Regions from separate parts of the Homo sapiens genome. Here region 2 is linked to region 1. The links are contacts of gene promoters, found by promoter capture Hi-C in blood cells and fetal thymus (Javierre and others, 2016). All regions are on one chromosome and are shown on one strand. Each heading gives the region's core, a stretch centred on a gene start or on the middle of the fragment in contact. The rest is flanking DNA. Distances are from core to core; before and after follow the strand shown. Region 1 holds the start of PDE2A (phosphodiesterase 2A). Region 2 has its middle 12 kb from the start of LINC01537.

The links. Contacts are between HindIII fragments. The CHiCAGO score rates a contact against its expected background, and 5 or more counts as called.
Region 2: a contact is called between a fragment that was not itself captured here and the fragment with the promoter of PDE2A in region 1, in 2 of 17 cell types (endothelial precursors and megakaryocytes). The highest score is 5.3, in endothelial precursors.

The regions. Positions count from the first base shown.
Region 1 is chr11:72,670,308-72,675,755 of GRCh38, reverse strand. PDE2A (phosphodiesterase 2A) reads left to right here and starts at 1,334. Exons shown (of 31, transcript NM_002599.5): 1 at 1,334-1,619. The coding sequence starts at 1,549. RefSeq lists enhancers at 1-110, 261-885, 886-1,512, 1,513-2,138, 2,139-2,765. The HindIII fragment of the contact is 6,386 bases long and covers 1-2,991 here.
Region 2 is chr11:72,555,503-72,560,969 of GRCh38, reverse strand. No RefSeq gene overlaps it. Among named protein-coding and RNA genes, the nearest start is that of LINC01537, 12 kb to the left of the region's middle. The HindIII fragment of the contact is 1,128 bases long and covers 3,087-4,214 here.

The DNA of each region.
Region 1 (5,448 bases), core at 85-2,584:
GAAGCCTGTTGTGTGGCGGGGAGGTATTCTCCCCACAGCTCAGAGAGATGGGGTTGCTGTGGAGGGTTTGCTGTAGCTCCTCTACCCTGGAATATACCCTCTTCTGCCTTAAAAGACCCAGCTTGGACCCTCTCTTCCAGAAATGCTTGCTAACCGCCCCCCCACCACCCAAACTAGGTCAGGGGTCCCTCTGGGCTTCACAGACCCTGTGCTTCTTTCTGTCACAGCCTGCAAGTCTCCCCTCCCCACTCCCCAGCCCGAGTGCTTCTCTGAGACAAGGGATAGTGTGAGCCATGAGCTCAGCCACTGGTAGGCCAATGAATAAGTAAGTTAATGGTGAAGCCAGGATCCAAATCCCCATTTCCTGCCTCAAGGTGTGGAGCTGTTTCTCCTGCATACAATAGTAGCTCTGCTGTGACAACTCTCTATCTGTCCTAGGGCCTAAAATGCCTCTATTTCACTAGGTTATAGCTTTATCCTAGGGAGTCCTCTTTGGAAGCAGGGTGGGGGTGCAACAGGCCTTCCCCCATGCCTGTAGTCTGTGAGCAGCGAAGGCCATGTGGGGCAGGCTGTGGCCTAGGTCTCCACAGATCCTGGTAGAAGTCCATGCTCACGCATCAGCTCCAAGTCCCAGCTAAACCAAGCCACCAAGAGGTGGGCCCTGTGACAAGGCTCTGAGTCCAAAGGCCATCAGTAAAGCCCCCTAAGTCTTCCGTGGACCCAGCTCCAGGCTGGGATGCACGCTAGGAGATGATACACACCGGGTGAGGGAGCCCAGAGGAGAGGGCAGCTAGCTGTGCATGGAGGCCTGATCTCTCAGACTTGAGGGCACAAGCGTGTCCCCTCATCCTGAAGGCTTCTGCGATGGGGCAGCAGAGGGTCTGGGTCTGCTGCCCCTCAAGTCCCCAGCCCCATCCTAGCCCATGAGGATTGTAAATCCCTCGTCCTCTCCCCTCTCTCCTCTGTCAGCCACTCCCCTTTCCCCCTACCCCACTCTCTTTCTATTTCTGCCTCTGATTTTTTTTCCTTTTCTGCCTTTGTTCCTCTGTGTGTGTGTTTCTCTATGCCTCTCTGGTCTCTTTGTACTTCCATCTTGATCTCGCTAAGGCTCTGATCCCTCTCTCCTCTCCCTCTTCATGTGTTACTGTCCCCCTTCCTGTCTCTGTTTATCTCTCAGTCTCTCTGTCTGTGAGTCTTTTTTCCTCTCTCCCAGTCAGACTCTCTCTCTACCCCTCCCTCTCTCCCTCTCTCCCTCTCTGTCTGGGCCTCTCTCTGTTCCTCCTCCCTCCTCCCTCCCCCTTCTGCATTATCAGACCTGCTCCAACCTCCTCCCAGAGCCAGCCGAGCAGCAGAGGCAGTGGCAGCGGGAGAGGCGGGAGCAGCGGGGCAGCAGAGCTGGATTGGGGTGTTGAGTCCAGGCTGAGTAGGGGGCAGCCCACTGCTCTTGGTCCCTGTGCCTGCTGGGGGTGCCCTGCCCTGAACTCCAGGCAGCGGGGACAGGGCGAGGTGCCACCTTAGTCTGGCTGGGGAGGCGGACGATGAGGAGTGATGGGGCAGGCATGCGGCCACTCCATCCTCTGCAGGAGCCAGCAGTACCCGGCAGCGCGACCGGCTGAGCCGTGAGTATAGTGAGGGGCTGGGGTGGTGAGCGGCTGTGAGAGGTGCCACAGACAGGGTCCTGGGAGTCCCTCCAAGGAGCTGGGGTTGGCATGGAGCTGAGCCACGTGGAAGGATCGATCCTGTTCCTGGGCACCCCTCCTCCCCGCGTTGCCAGACTGCAGCCTGGGGTGGGGGCAGGTTACCTCTGAGCAGAATGAGGGTGTCTAACGTCAACCTAGTAGGTGATGAGGCTGGGGTCCCATGGAAGGGGCTGCTGGTTGGAGGAGGGGCTGATAATGAACCTGAACCGGTTCTTCAAGGGCTGAGGGTGTATGTGGGGAGGGGGAGGTCTGCCAAGTAGTTGGGAGGAGCTCTCGGGGCTGCAATAGGCTGGTTCAGGACCCGGAGAGGGAGAGTGTCTTGGCCCACCAAGGCTATGTGTGTGTGAAGGAGGTGGGGAGGGGGAAAGATGGAGAAAATATGAATAAGAGTGGCCCTGGAGCAAGAGAGGGTTAGAGGTAACCACCTTCCATGGAATTGGGAATTGGGGTTCAGGGACACCACTTTATGAAACTTTACCCCAAAGCGTCTGTCCCAGGATAGGGTTCTACGGAGCCAGATGGAATATGGTGCCAGCCTCGTGTGTGTCCACGTGCAGGGGGGTGCATGTGCAAGTGAGTGGGGGGCGCCGTGGCGACACCCCTCTACTAAGGGCTGCCGAGGTGGTAGGCAGGGTATGTGTGTGTGTGTGTGTGTGTATACATGTGGAATGTAAGGGACATGTTGGGTGTAGAGGGGCCTGTAGAGCTCTAGGGTCCTTGGTGGTTGGATGTAAAGCAGCCTGTCAGAGTTTGTGATCATCCCTGTGTGAGTGAGAGTTTATTCGCATGTGTCTGAGTGTGAGTGCAGGTTGGTCTGCATATGTATGTAGGTGTGTCTATTAGGTTGAGTTTGTATATTATGTGTGTTGTGTCTGCAAAATAGAGTGAATCAGTGTGCATTTTTTATCTGTTCCATGTGCATTTATGTGTGTGTATTTGTTAGTGTGTGAATAATAGCATTGCTGTGTGTGGAGGTGGATGTGGCTGTGTGCGTATAAGTATTCTGGTGTGGGTGTGTGATCATGGTGCTAGTGTGTATATCGGTGCTTCTGTGGCTGGTGTGTGTGTGTATCTATATGTGTGTATTCATCTGAGTGTGTGTGGGTGGCTGTTTCCTTCCCCTGGCAATTGAGGATACAGCTGGGACACCATGGCCCACTGATGCAGGGCAGGGAGGGGCTGAATGTATGACCGCCTCTTTGAACTCAGGACAATTCATTCTACACCCTGTGGGAAAGATGCAGAAAAGAAATAGGCAATAATGACTCTGCCCTCTGGGGCTTCCTAAGCTTCTTAGACATAAAATAGCTTGAGAATAATTAAGCAGTAGAGATCAACGTCATGCTAACAGGTGGGGGTGGGGTGGGAACTGCATAAGCAAAGGCCCTGGGCTGGGCATGTCCTGGAGCAGTGAAGACACTGTATAGAGTGGGGGGCAGGCAGGACCCACATTCAATAGAACTTTAAGATCCAGGACTCTTAGGCTTTATCCAGAGAGCCCTGGGGAGCCCAGAAAGGTTTTATATAGGGGAGAGACATGATCAGATTTGGGTTCTAGAAACCTGCCCTGGGCCAGGCATGGTGGCTCATGCCTGTAATCCCATCACTTTGGGAGGCAGAAGCAGGTGGATCACTTGAGGCCAGGAGTTTGAGACGAGACTGGCCAACATGGTGAAACCCAGTGTCTATTAGAAATACAATAAAATTAGCTGGGTGTGGTGGCACACGCCTGTAGTCCCAGCTACTTAGAAGGCTGAGGCATGAGAATATGAGAATCGCTTGAACTTGGGAGGTGGAGGTTGCAGTGAGCTGAGATTGCCTTACTGCACTTTAGCCTGGGGGTGACAAAGTGAGACTCTGTCTCAAAAGAAGAAAAAAAAAAAGAAGAAGAAAAATAAAGAAACCTGCCTCGGTGGCATTGTCTGGGTTGAACTGGAAGAGAGAGGTGGGGCCAGGAGGCTAGAGTGGAGGCCAAGCCAATACAGGGGTCAGTGAGTTCTGGAGCTTTTTGAGAACTTGGGAAAGGCTGGATAGATGAGAACAGGGAAGGGAATGTCTAGGTGGCTCAGGCTTGGACTGGGGTCAGGGGTGTAGTGCAGACATCTCAGTAAGTCAGGATCTCATGAGGGAAAAGGCTCATGGAAGGCTCAGGAAAGCTGGGCGTGGGTGGGCTGAGGTAGTGGGAGAGATCTTTGTAGTGTTTCTAGCTAGGATGCAGAGGGTCAGAGATCATGGAGCCATCTCTTGCCAGACAGGGAAACTGAGACTATGGCTTCATCACTACCCTTTGGCTGCAAGGCTGGGGCTCAACCTCTTCATCAGACCTGACCCTCAATATCATTCTCCTTCAGGCCCTGCCCGGAACCTCTTGGTTGCTGAGCTTGGTCAGCTCAGTGAGGGTTAATTGTCTTTATGCTCCCTGCACCCCCACCCCCCGCAGTCATTCCCCCTGCCCACCAAGCAGCTCCTGCCACTCTTCCTGCTTCCCACTCCAGCCTCCTGTCCCCAGGGACTGCTGATGGCTTGGCTGGGATCTAGCCAAATGGTGGGGGGTGGGGGCGGGGGTGGGGGGAAGAGCTCCCAGCAGTCCTTTACCCCTTGGTCTTAATGGACTGGGAGTCTCACCCTCAGCCATGCTGCTGTCAGGCCAGGCCTGCGCTCCCCGGGCTTCTGCTGCTTGGGCCTATGAAATCTCCCGACTCAGCATGATTCCATTGCTGCATTCATTCATTCAACCACTCAACAGGAACTTCTCAGTAGCTGCTTGGTGCCCACTTGGCTTGTCACCGGGGACACAGAGCAGACACTGACTGAGTCCCTGTTCTCAGGGAGTGCCCAGTCTGATGAAGGAGAAAGAAATGGAAAGCTGCAACCCTACAGGGTGAGCAGTGCTGTGTAGGAGGTGGGGGGCCCACAGCAAGCCTGGGCTTCAGAGGAAGAGACATTTGAGCCGGACCTTGAAGGATGGGTAGGAATCACCCAGGCAGGGAAGAGCAGAGGGAACAGTTTGTGAAGGTGGGTAGGAAAGGCACAGGGCTAGGCACCTGACTCAGTGCAGCCTCTGGGTGGGAGAAGACAGTAAGGGCGTTTGGGTCATTTTCTAGCAGTTGTTTTAGTACTCTCTACAACTTGCCCTGCAGATCTATCCAGCCTGCTGTTTGTATACCCCCGGACATAGGATGTTCATCTCTTCCCTCCTGGGCAGCCCTTCCCTTGTGGTGGTTATATCTGTCCTGGGTCTTCTCCGCAGGGCCCAGCAACTCCAGGCTACCCAGCCTGGCCTTATGTCCTTTCTCCGTCCTGTGTCACTGTCCCCTGAAGTAGGGCCAGGCTGGGGCACAATGATCCAGGAGTGGCAAGAACACATCTAGGCAGAGAGTGGGAGAAATGCGCAGCCTTTATTAACAAAAATCTGAGATGGGTGCAGGCCCTGACTCCTCTCCAAAAATAATGATAAAGAAGCAGGCATGGTCAAATAAGGGAGTGAGGACAGACAGCAGGAAGAACTTCCTACCAATGCAGAAGGGCTGTGAGTCTCTTGGTTTTATGAGAGTGGGCTGTACGTGTGAAAGGGAGGGTCTCAGAGGACAAGAGGGGGAATTGGAGGCAGAGGCACTGTCAGCCTCTGACTCTCCCATAGGTGAGTGAGTGAAGTCATCCAGGGAGAGGGAACAGAGGAGGGAGATCAGGACTCATCATTCATTCATTCAGCAGCCGTTCACTGGCCCTACCAAACATGACACCCCTG
Region 2 (5,467 bases), core at 2,401-4,900, 120 kb after region 1:
ACCCTGTCGCTACTAAAAATACAAAAAAAATGGCCGGGTGCGGTGGCTCACGCCTGTAATCCCAGAACTTTGGGAGGCCGAGGTGGGTGGATCACGAGGTCAGGAGATCGAGACCATCCTGGCTAACACGGTGAAACGCCGTCTCTATGAAAAATACAAAAAACTAACCGGGCGTGGTGGCCGGCGCCTGTAGTCCCAGCTACTCAGGAGGCTGAGGCAGGAGAATGGCATGAACCCGGGAGGTGGAGCTTGCAGTGAGCAGAGATGGTGCCACTGCACTGCAGCCTGGGCAACAGAGTGAGACTCTGTCTCAAAAAAATAAAAAAATTAAAATTTAAATTTAAAAAATACAAATAAATTAGCCGGGTGTGGTGATGGGCACCTGTAGTCCCAGCTACTCGGGAGGCTGAGGCAGGAGAATGGCGTGAACCTGGGAGGCGGAGCTTGCAGTGAGCCAAGATCACGCCGCTGCACTCCAGCCTGGGTGACAGAGTAAGACTCCCTCTCAAAAAAAAAAAAAAAAAAAAAAAAAAAATTATGTACTTAACGTCTAGCCTTTTGCTGATGGGAATTCTTACAAAATGAATGCTGTACCAGCTCTCATTTCCTGGCCCAGGTTCTCTGCCCTGTCACAGGAATGGCAGTTTCTGGTCCAGCCTCAGGCCCCACGCTGGGCTCACCTTACAGACCAGCCCCTGGTTTATCTCCCATGAATCACTGTGCCCCTGTACCTGCCTGGTGCGGGTTAGAGCAGCCGATCCTCTTTTCTCTTCCCACCTGCCTCTGAACCATTTATCTGGCTCTCAGCTTAGACCACCTGGGTAGCGTGTGCCTATTAGGGGCAGGTAGATTCTCTTCCCAGGTAGACTGGGAGCCCCTTAAGGGCAGGAACAGATCTGCCTCAGCTCTGGTTTCCTACATCCCTACTCAGAGTATGGGACATAGTAGGTGGTCCAAACAGGTATATTCATTGACTGAAAGTGGCTGAGTCAGGATTTAAACGCACCCAGTCATCCAAACTCAACTGAAGACTGAAGGAGGCCCTATGAAAATCTCCAAATTCTCTCTCCAATTCTCTCTCTAGGCAACTTTTGCTCTCTGGCACCCTGCCCTGGGTGTTCCAGCTTAGAAGCCCTCCTCAGCCTCCTAACTCCATCGCCTCAACTCAGGGAGGCTTCTGGGCTTCCCCTCGGTTCCCCCGCCTAGCCTGTGGCATGGAAACTCTCTCCAGGCAATAAGTGGAGCATTGTGGGGCTCACCACATCTGTTTCCTTCTTCTTAGGAGTCAAAGTCATTGCCTGATATGCAATGCCTTGAAAACCTTCATTTCATAGATTTTTGCCCCTTTTTTGTTTGTTATTTTAGACAGGAGGGTAAATTTAGTCTTTATTAGTCTATTTTGGATGGGAGTGCATGTCTATTTCATTAATTTGTACTGCTATAGAGTACTCCATGTTTGAATGTGAATAGACATTTGGATATGAAGCTTCTGGCTGTTGGGAACAATGTTCCTAGGAAACTCTTGTATATGTTTTGAATATACCATTGTATGAATATATTAGAATTTATTTCTTCATTTCTATTGTTAATGCACATCTTCAAGCTTCCATCTGGGGTGATCATTCCTTTTGACATGAAAAATACCCTTTTAGTATTTCCTTTAGTGCAGGCCTGCTGCTGGTGAATTCTACTATTTCTGTTATTAAATGTCTTTGCAACGGAGCCTACCTCCTGCCCTGAAGGCAAGGTCCTCTCCCCTTCCAACTGGGTGTTTTCTCAAGAGATTGGGAGAAAGAGGCAGGCATGCATCCTGTATTTTTAATTAAAATAAAAAATAAAAAAATATTTCTTCTTTATTCTTGAAGGATATTTTTGCTGCTATTGAATTCTAGGTTAGGAAGTATTTCTCTTAGCCCTTTGAAGATAACATTCTATTCTCTTTGGACTTCTATTGTTGCTTTTTTTTTTTTTTTTTTTTTTTTTGAGACAGAGTCTCGCTCTGTTGCCCAGGCTGGAGTGCAGTTGCGTGATCTCGCTCACTGCAAGCTCTGCCTCCTGGGTTCACGCCATTCTCCTGCCTCAGCCTCCCGAGTAGCTGGGACTACAGGTGCCCACCACCACGCCCAGTTAATTTTTTTGTATTTTTCATAGAGACGGGGTTTCACCGTGTGTTAGCCAGGATGGTCTCGATCTCCTGACCTTGTGATCCACCCGCCTCAGCCTCCCAAATTGCTGGGATTATAGGTGTGAGCCACTGCGCCCAGCCCCTGGACTTCTATTGTTTCTGATGAAAAGTCAGCCATCAGTCTTATTATTTCTCCTTTGAAAGTAATACATGTTTTTCTCTGGCTGCTTTGAATAATTTATCTTTATTTTTGGTCTGCAGAAGTTTTATCACAATGTGCTTAGATGTGGTTTTCTTTGTATTTATTCTGTTTGAGATTCATAGCATGTCTTTTTCAGTGTGGTTTGCAAATAGTATTTCTTGAATCTGTGATGATTTTGCCTTTCCTCAATCTAACTTCATCAAGTATAGATAAGTGTATTTCCCATAATTCCCAAAGCATGGTAAGAAAGTTCTACAAAATTCTACTAAAATCCTGGGATAACAGGAAAGAAATCATAATGTAGAGATAGGGAAAACATTTTAAATTAGCCACTATATTATTGTCTTTAGGGTTTAAACTTAACATACTTCCTTGGAAGAGAAGGGTCCCTGGTGGAAGTCTCTTTCTCCAGCTCCTGATCTATCACCAAGAATGTGTCCCTACCTGGAGTCAGGGCATTCCACCTTCTTATCTGATGCCTGGTGAGATGGAAAACTAGTTTCCCTCTGTCTCTCTAGTTTAGCATATGCCTCTCAGTCAACATTTACACTTTAATGCAGAACAAATTAGCATCTCATTGCTTAGAACTCCTTCATATCAGAATAAGATTTTGGATTTACTACTGAGTAATCAAAATGTCTCTTAAAATATTTGCACCAAATAATTGATCAACTTGTTACCACAGGTAAATTCTGTTTCTATTTCTATATCATATATATATAAGAAAAAAGGATATAAAGGAAAAAAATCCCAGAAGCTTTAATATAGACATTATCCTTCCTCCAACTCCACTTTTAGCCAGTAATATTGGGATCCAATCACAATTGGATATTGATATTGATCACTGAAATATTTATGTCGCTGTGGTGGGTCAAGGCCACATTATGATAGGCTTGATGATGCAGAGAGAGGGGGACACAGAAGTTGACACTGGCAAAACAAGGAATCCACTTCATGCCAACAGTGCTGATGTGGACACTCCCCCTCAGCCCAGCAGAATAAAGGGTTGCCAATGGGCAGCAAGGGCTTCCCTGCCCTGGTGGATTTGTTGCTGTGCTTTGACCATTTGGCTCCAAGTGCCCCTGTATGAGGGCATATTTGTATCTCTACCTTTACCAGCTTATTTGCTCTCTCAGCAGTGAACCAAAGTGGAAGCACCCTTGAACCCTGGTCTGAATCGCTATTCTTACCAATCTTTGTACCCAAGCAAACTCTCTGTGATCTGGCCCAGCTCACTGGTGCATATATTTTTCCAAAATAGCAGTTACAATTACCTACTTGCCCAATCCCTTCTAGACTGCCTTCCTGTTGTAGAAGCTGGAAAACTAAAATGACATTTTCTAGGCTCCTCTGCAGCTTGGGTTTCATGTGTGACCTGAGTTCCATCAGGAAAGTGCCCCAGTCAGATGTGGAGGTGGAAGTACATCCTAGGCATTGATGACTGCATGCAGGTGGATAGAATCATCTGGAAAGGAGCTGTGACAGAGGTGTCTGGGTATTTCAGGGCTGTCCATGGGGGAGTTTCTAATAGCCAGAACCTCACATAGGTGCCAAGTTACAGGTAGTGTTTCCAGTAGAAATTCCCGTGGCACAGTTGGGCGTTTTGGCTGGCTGCATTGTCCCTGGCCCTGTTGTCTTTGGCTGTGTAGCACTAAGCCTAGTTCTCTTCTCCTTCTACTTAAACCTGTATGGCGTACACAGCTAAGAACGCTGACTGGTGCAGCTTTCTTGAAGCACTGATCCCATTGGTTGTAATTGCCTGTCTTCTCTTCTAATATAGCCTGAGTTCCTTGAGGGGAGAGACTAAATCTAGTTCATTTTATGTCCTTAGCACCCAACACAGAACCTGAGATGGAGTATGGACTCAGCAAAAATTCACTGAAAGCTTAAATGACATGTGAGTCATTTATTATTAAAAATCCAATCTGAGCGATTTCATCTACTCAGGAGCCCTGGGCTGGCCTGCAGAGCTTCAGTACTATCTCAGTGGTGATCACGGTCACACAAGTCACCTCATTCAACAGAAGAAAACAGTCTGCCCAGCAAAACCATGCCTGCATGACAAACAGCCAGGCCTCCCATCAATGGGAATCATGTTCACGACGGAATCCTGCTTGCATGACTGGCTGAACATGGATCAAAACAAACTGGCTTCCAGGACACTGGCAGGTTCCAGGATGCAAAACGACATTCACTATGAGTGGGGCATATAAAAGTAGGTCAGAGAAAAAGAACAAAATTTATACTATGTTGCCATCAAATAAATTCTAAAATATCACCAATGGAAAAAAATCCTCCTTAAAGAAATGTCACCCCAAACTGCCCCTAAGCATCTGTTTTTAATCTCTTCATGTGACTCCTCATCCCTGGGTCTTCCTAGTGACCAAAACACAGGCCCCCAATTTTGTTTTCTCTCTTAAGCTTTTAGTTTTCCGTGTCACTTTTCTAAGTTGTGGGATGTGCTTCCCATGGACCCTCTTGACGGCTGGCAGCTGCCCGCCAAGGGGAAGCATCTAGACAGTAGAATGCAGTGGTTCAGGGCATGATCTCTAGCATCAGGCAGAACTGCTTCAAGTCCCTGCTCTGCCATTTCCTTGCTGCATGGCTTTGTGTAAGGCTGTTAACTTTCCCAAGTCTCAGCTTCCTCATCTATAAAATGGGAATAATGATAAACATTCTTTTTTTCTTTTTTTTTTGAGACGGAGTCTTGCTCTGTCGTCCAGGCTGGAGTACAGTGGCATGATCTCGGCTCACTGCAGCCTCCGCCTCCCGGGTTCAAGCAATTCTCCTGCCTCAGCCTCCCAAGTAGCTGGGACTATAGGCGCACGCTGCCATGCGTGGCTATTTTTTTGTATTTTTAGTAGAGACAGGGTTTCACTATGTTGGCCAGGCAGGTCTCAAACTCCTGACCTCATGATTCGCCCGCCTCGGCCTCCCAAAGTGCTGGGATTACAGGCATGAGCCACCGCCCCGGCCACAAACCTTAAGAGATAAACAAATGACCAGCAAACTTCTGAAAAAATGCTCAACATCACTAATGATCAGGGAAATGCAAATCAAAATTACGATGTGATACAATCTTATTCCTGCAAAAATGACCGTGATAAAAAAAATCAAAAAATTATAGATGTTGGCGTGGA